Linked DNA regions of Homo sapiens: region 2 is linked to region 1. Evidence: promoter capture Hi-C in 16 types of primary human blood cells and fetal thymus (Javierre and others, 2016). All regions are on one chromosome and are shown on one strand. The core of a region is centred on a gene start or on the middle of the fragment in contact, and the rest is flanking DNA. Distances in the headings are between cores, read along the strand shown.

Region 1 (3,442 bases), core at 533-3,032:
ACGTCGATCCAGCCGGCCCCCACGTCCCACCAGCTGGAGGCGCCGGCCGAGCCCACCTCGCCCGCAGCACCCAGGCCCGGGTGCGAGGGCTTAAACCACGACTCGTACGGGTGCGCCATGCCCACCCGCGGGTAGATGCCCTGCAGCCCGTCCACAGAGGTGTGCACCTTGGAGATGAACACCGGCTGGTGGGAGCCGTCCTGCGAGTGCGCGGAGGAGCCGCCGCCGCCGCCCCCGCCGCCGCCGCCGCTGCCCCCGGAAACTCCGGGGGCCTGGAAAACAGAGTAGTCGTTGGCGAAGGGCGAGCTGGAGGCGGCGGCTGCGGCGGCGGCGGCGGCGGCTGCGGCGCTGCTGGAGGTGAGGGAGAAGGCGCTGGAGCCAGGCGAGCCGCCGCAGCTGAACGAGTCGGACACCAGGGCCGCGGCAGCCGCGGCTGCTGCCGCGGCCGCCGCAGCCGCCGAGGACGAGCCGCCGTTCCTGGAGGCCCCGGACACGCCGAAGCTTGAGAGACTGGAACCCACTACGTTGCAGCTGGCGGAAGAAGAGGACGAGGAGCGTTTCCAGGGGTGGAAGCCTTTGCCGAAGGAAGAAGAGCTGTCCGAGAGGGAGGAGGGAGACGGGCTGGGGCTGCCTATCTTATTACAGGTAGCGGCAAGCATGGCCAGAGGAGTCGATCCCAACCTCGGTTCTTCCTGCGAGGAGGAGAGGAGAAGGAGTGGGGGAGGGGAGGTGGGCAAAGGGCCGGTGGGGGAGGAAAGGAAGAAATGTGCATCAGTCCTTCGGTAGCCTCCAAAGCGCCCCACTGCACCCCATCTCTCGCTGCGGCGCGCCGCCACCAACTCACCTGGCACCCCCAACAGCCCCGGCGCCCGGCCGCTTCCTACTCTACAGGAGGGGACAAGTTTGGCTGCCGGCGTCTGATTCGGGAGCAAGCACCACGCTAAAGAAGAGTTTGACAAGTATTCTCACCTAAAACAACACTCTCTTGCACACAAAGCCCCAGACACTTCGTAACAAACAAGCAAAAAGTCCAGATTGGAGAGGAAGGAAGTTTTCTTTGCCGAGAAGCCTGGGGGAAAACCATTGGATTGCTTTTAAGAGCGCTTCCCTGTAATCCGGAGAGCTTTGAAAAACCTGTTCGGGTCCCCAGAAACCCATCCTGGGTTGTTTCTCCCAGGCCAAAAGAAATCAAACTGTAGGGCTCACTCTTTCTTCCTGCTTTTCTTTCTTTCTTTTTTTAAAAGCATATCTACAGTAGTAAAAACGAGACGAGTTCAACGTACCTGCGAGACAAGGCGGGCTGCAGAATTTTTTTTTAAGGGTTAGGGGAAGAATCTGCACTTTGCCCAGAAGGAAAAACTTGCTCTCTTTACCCCCGAAATCGGTGCCTGTAAAATGGGCTGGACGCAGGTCTCCCGGGCAGGGAGCAGCGAGGCGCTGCGCGGTGGCTTGTCTAAATGCCCTTCGAACCTTTTCCTGCGCTGAAAAAAAGTGACTCTGCCCCCTTCTCCCCCTTTTTCTTTTCTCCAAACTCACTTGTATTTAAAGAAAAAAAAAAAAAGCTCTCAATAGAGAGACTGATAGCCCGTGGCCTGGCCGGGGCGACTTTAACCCCCTCCAATCGGCAATAAAAGGAAACTAATTAAACCAGCAAGAGAAAATCCTGAGACTCACCCCTAGAAGTGAAGTTGCCATCACACAAAAGTGCCCTCCTCCTCTCAGAGGATCTTTTTTATATTGATAAATCAGAGGCAGTGTTTTTTTTAGAGGTGTGCAATACAATGATCAGTTCCGCCCATTCCACCACAATTGTAGCTCCCTCTCCGGCTTTGAAGTGCCGCGGAGGCGCGGCCAGCCAATCTGCGGCCTCGCCGGGCCGCGCGGCGCGCGCGCCGTGAGGTCATCGGCGCCGCCGCCTGCCGCCGTGGTGGAAGGGGGAGTGGGAGCGGAGGGGGCGGGGGCGGCTGCGTGTGTTACAAAGCGCAAAGCGCGCGCTCGCGTGTATGAGTGTGTGTGTAACAATGTAACTGTGTGCGAGTGTGACCAGGCGTAGGAGAGGACAGTGCGGAGACTGGAGGGAGGGGGGATGGGGGTGTGACACCGTAACAGTGACAGTGTGGTAAAGGCGGGGAGTGGAGAGAGTGCAGAAAAGGGAGGGTTGTGTGATAAGATAACTGCGTGTGCGACAAAGCGGGGTAGAGGGACAGAGCAGTTAAGTGTTGGGAAGGGTGTGAGTGTACGGTAGTGTAACTGACAAACCTAGGGAGGGAAGAGGGACTCAACTGGGTGGGGGGTGAGTGTGTTTGGTGTTGGGGGAGAAGGAGGGCTGTGAACATGTGTATTTGTGCGACAGAGAAGAGGGAAGGGTGTGTGTGGGCGCTTGTGTTGTGTGCGCGCACCAAAGCTGGTAGTGGGGAATGGGAACAATGCAATAAAGTGTGTGTTTGTAAGAGAGAGACTGTCGAGCTGAAGAGAGAAACCGACTAAGTTGATGGAGGCTGAGTGAATAAATATTCACAAACGCTGCCCCTGTCGCCAACTTCCTTTGGCTCCTTGTACCTAAAATCTTGAGTGATTTTTTTTTCTTAACTTGGTAAACAGCGTCACTACATTTTTGAAGAAGATCTTTAAACCCACCTTTTCTTTCCCGGCTCTCCAACGAAATAGTAGAAAGGTTGAGAGGCTAAGGGTTATTTTTAGGGATGCGTTGGGACGTGGATGCGCGCCTGCGCGCCCATGAGTTGTTTCTTTGATGCCGTGGCTTTTTTTTTTTTTTTTTTTTTTTTTTTCCCTGAGGTGGAATTCTGCTTTAGAAGTGCACGTCTCACTCTAGGGGAGGAGGTGTGTGTGTCCCGTGGTGTTGAGTAAATTTCAATACAAAAGGATTAGATAGAGAAGAGAGTAAGCGAGGGTCGTTTTTTCTTTGGGTAAGAAATTGAAGAGCGTTTTACGGAATTTAGAAATTTTCACAGAAAACCTCACTGCCTCTTTCTGAGAAAAGAATCAGGACTTTGATCGAAATATATGGGTTCTATTTATCTAAGAATAGAGAGGAGCTTTTGACAAATCTTGGACATTTATCCAGGCGTCAGTGTCTAATGGCGATTGGGCCAGAGATCTGTCTATGAGTGTGTGTGCATGTTAATAGATACACTTAGTTCAAATTCGGTGGGGTTTAGTCATTTGCTTGCCATTTGTGTTATTAGTTGCCTTCAGAAATGCCATTACAATTTCACTGCCACCACAAGGGAACTTAAACCGCAGAAAGCACAACACCAGTGTAGCAAAAAGTCCAGTCTTTGTAGCCCTATTGAATATTCATAAGTTATAAAAACAGTTCATATTTTTAACCAGTTACAAGTGCTCTCAGAAGTCTAATTTTAAAATGGAATTAACTAAAATGTGACTAGCTGGGCGAACTGTTTTGTTTTGACTGGGAAAA
Region 2 (3,001 bases), core at 395-2,894, 5.1 Mb after region 1:
ATAGATGACTGAAAAAGCTTGGAGAGGGTAAGTAACTTAGCCTTCCATGCAAAAATTTACTTACAATCATAGAGGTTCTCAGACCTTGTCCAGGCCCATCCATGGGCCATCAAACATGCACCCCAGGTTAGGAACCCTGCCCTCTGCAAGCAGAATAGCTGCACAGAAAAGCTTGTCAAGATGTCCTAAATTCAGAGCTCATCCCCAAACATACAATATGCATATGTATGTATGTATACACATGCATATATGTGTGTATAAGTATGTATGTATGAATTACTATGTCTATGAAGGAACAATTTTTATTTCTGAGGCAGCTCTCTAAAGCTGCTTAAGACTGCTGAACTATTTCATCTCTACTCAGCTCTGCTACCTGATAAGATACTAACATCACATGTTTACAGCACACTCCCACTCATCAAACAGAAACTGACCCTGGGGAGGTGTCATATAAAGCGCTACCAACCAACAGACAGGTTCACAGCTCCTCAGCCGACATTGGTAATGAATAACATATTACCCTGGGCCTTGAAGCCCCTTTCAAATCCATTACTGATGACCCTCCCTGTCACTGGGCTGATCTGGAGCTGGTGTTTAATCATAGTCCTGCAGTGACATCAGAGATCTGGCACTGGACTTTGCAGAAGGGCCTGGGGGAGAGGTAATTAATGTTGAGTGCCACTGAGGAACTCCCAAGAGCAGGCATCATGAGCCTCGTCTGCCTTTGAGCAGCCGGCATCCAGGTGAGGTGGTACAATCCGGCCAGCAGCCTGCACTGGAGAGGTTCTGAGGCTGGCTTTGAGCCATTGGGTCCACATGGGCTTGCTGAAGAGATCATCAGCATTTAATCAATCTTCCAAAGGGAAGTTCAACCTGAAGAAGTCAGCCTTCCCTTCAGGCTTCCAGGGCATCTGCTCAATGGCAAAGCAGCTTTAGAAAGAGGGTGCTGACTCTGAGGATGTGTTCCTCCCTCTTCCTTTCCAACAGTCAACGTTGAAGTCAAGATGGCAAAGCAAGAATCCCCTCTGATTGCAAGAAATTGTCAGAAGAAGCTATCCAGTCCTCTGATTGTGGGAATCTGCACCGAGCTGGCTACAGCTCTACAAAGATGAGATTTCCAGGTAACACAGAGTTGAGTTTTGTGTCATCCACATGGGCTGATTTCCCAATTTGGTGACCTGACACATGGCCAAGAGAATAAAGTGATGGGAAAAAAACTCAACTAGAAAATATCAGAGAGAAGAAACATCATGCAGTTTCTTTAAATTGTAGTGAACAAGAGAGTTAACGAAAATCAGCCATTTCATCCCATATGAAAAATAAAATATCTACAGAAAGCCAAAATACTTTTTCCAAACACCATTCTGGAGTCATTTACCACCAACCAACCTTCCAAACAAATCGGTTGTTGATTTGTTTATTTGTTACACAACCAGACACATATGGCTGATGAAAGTAATCAGATGCTGGTGGGGTGAAGACAGAACTCAAAAATAAATTGAACTGAAGAGCTAAACATACTGCAAAAAAGCTCAGGCCTCAGGCACACCTTCCAAGTTGTGTTATTCTATGCTATTCATACCACTTTCCTTATTGATATAAAACAATTTTTGTTTTCTTTTCCAGAAAGAATGCTGCCAATCGCCAGAGGCAGACATGTTTATCAGGCTGTGTATCTTGAAGTCTGACAGAAAATCTGTGGCCTTTGGTACAGCTGAAAAACACTCTGTCAACACCATGGAGAGTGCAAGCCCGTTGTGCTGGCCTCAACCCAAGGAGTGCAGGGGAATGGACAAAAATTTGACTCAAGGCCAAAAATTACAAGAGGAGGGAAAGTCAGACTTGAGGCAAACAAGCCTTTTCCATCGGGTCTGTTTAATATCTCGTGTAAGCATCCAAACCACAAATCGGTCAGTGCTTAGGTGAAAAGACAAGTTTTTCTCCCTTTTGGAAAGCTATTTTGCTTAAGCTCCTATGAATACATCAATTATATTAGCCCTGAGAGTGTCTGTCAGTGCAATGTTAAAAGGTCCACTATTTTTCAGACTGCCCACATCAGAAACAAAATACCCTTCAAACTCTCTGCCCTGAATTGCTTGGGCCAAAGAGAGCTTGAGAGAAAAAGGCATAAACTCCACAACATTGACAGTGAGAAGAGCCACTGGTTTTAAGTAAATTGTAGTCATATTTATCAGCTTAATAAAATCCCCCCAGCACTCGTGTGCCATCAAATTCTTCAATTTCAAATTCAGGAAAAATGGCTCTTTTGTGACAGAAGGTATAAGGCCAAAGGGCAGGTTGTCAGCGAGACCGCCTCCCCTGCAGGCCAGTTGGGCTTGGAGCTTTGGGAAGGCAAGTTTGCAAGAGCCTAGGCCTGTTGCAGAAATACTCTGTCCTCAGCTTTTCCTTCAGGGCCAGGTCCCTGGATTCTTGGATAAGACATTTACAATATGCGGGCACCACACTGAATCAGGACTGTGTGCAGAGAAGCAAACCAGGCCTTTCCACATAGATAGGAAAAAATAATCATAACAGTTCATGGTTATGCAGCTTCCAGTGGACTCCATTGTTACCTGGTAATCATCAGTCAATTGCCATCACCCTTAACCTTAAAGGTGTCACTTTCGTACTTCAGGTATTCTTTCCAAAGTCCCTCTACCCCTTCTTCTCCCTGTCTTATCTGTCCCTGATCTCTGCCACCCTCAGTTGCTTACATTGGCCAACCAGCCTGAAATGGGAGAGGTTGAATCCTTCATGCTATGTGCATAGCCAACATTCCACAAGATTTATGTCACTAAAGCCTGTGAAAATGACAAATGGTGAGAAAGAGGGCCAAAAAGGGAAGCAAAAATAAATCCAACTACGATTTAACAAAGGGCGGCCCAGTATCTGTACCTAGTGGGTACTGTGATATCTTGAGGGACATGAATTTAACAAGAGAAATAAACTGCTGTATGAGGATCTTTAAAATGCTCTTGTTTTCCATTCAAATTCTCTTTAG

The links. The method cuts DNA at HindIII sites, captures the fragments that hold promoters and counts their contacts. A CHiCAGO score of 5 or more calls a contact.
Region 2: a contact is called between a fragment that was not itself captured here and the fragment with the promoter of SP8 in region 1, in 1 of 17 cell types (total B cells). The highest score is 6.9, in total B cells.

Annotation. Positions count from the first base shown.
Region 1 is chr7:20,785,104-20,788,545 of GRCh38, forward strand. SP8 (Sp8 transcription factor) reads right to left here and starts at 1,783. Exons shown (of 2, transcript NM_182700.6): 1 at 1,675-1,783; 2 at 1-692. The coding sequence starts at 1,695. The HindIII fragment of the contact is 6,810 bases long and covers 500-3,442 here.
Region 2 is chr7:25,845,102-25,848,102 of GRCh38, forward strand. No RefSeq gene overlaps it. Among named protein-coding and RNA genes, the nearest start is that of LINC03007, 56 kb to the left of the region's middle. The HindIII fragment of the contact is 2,950 bases long and covers 170-3,001 here.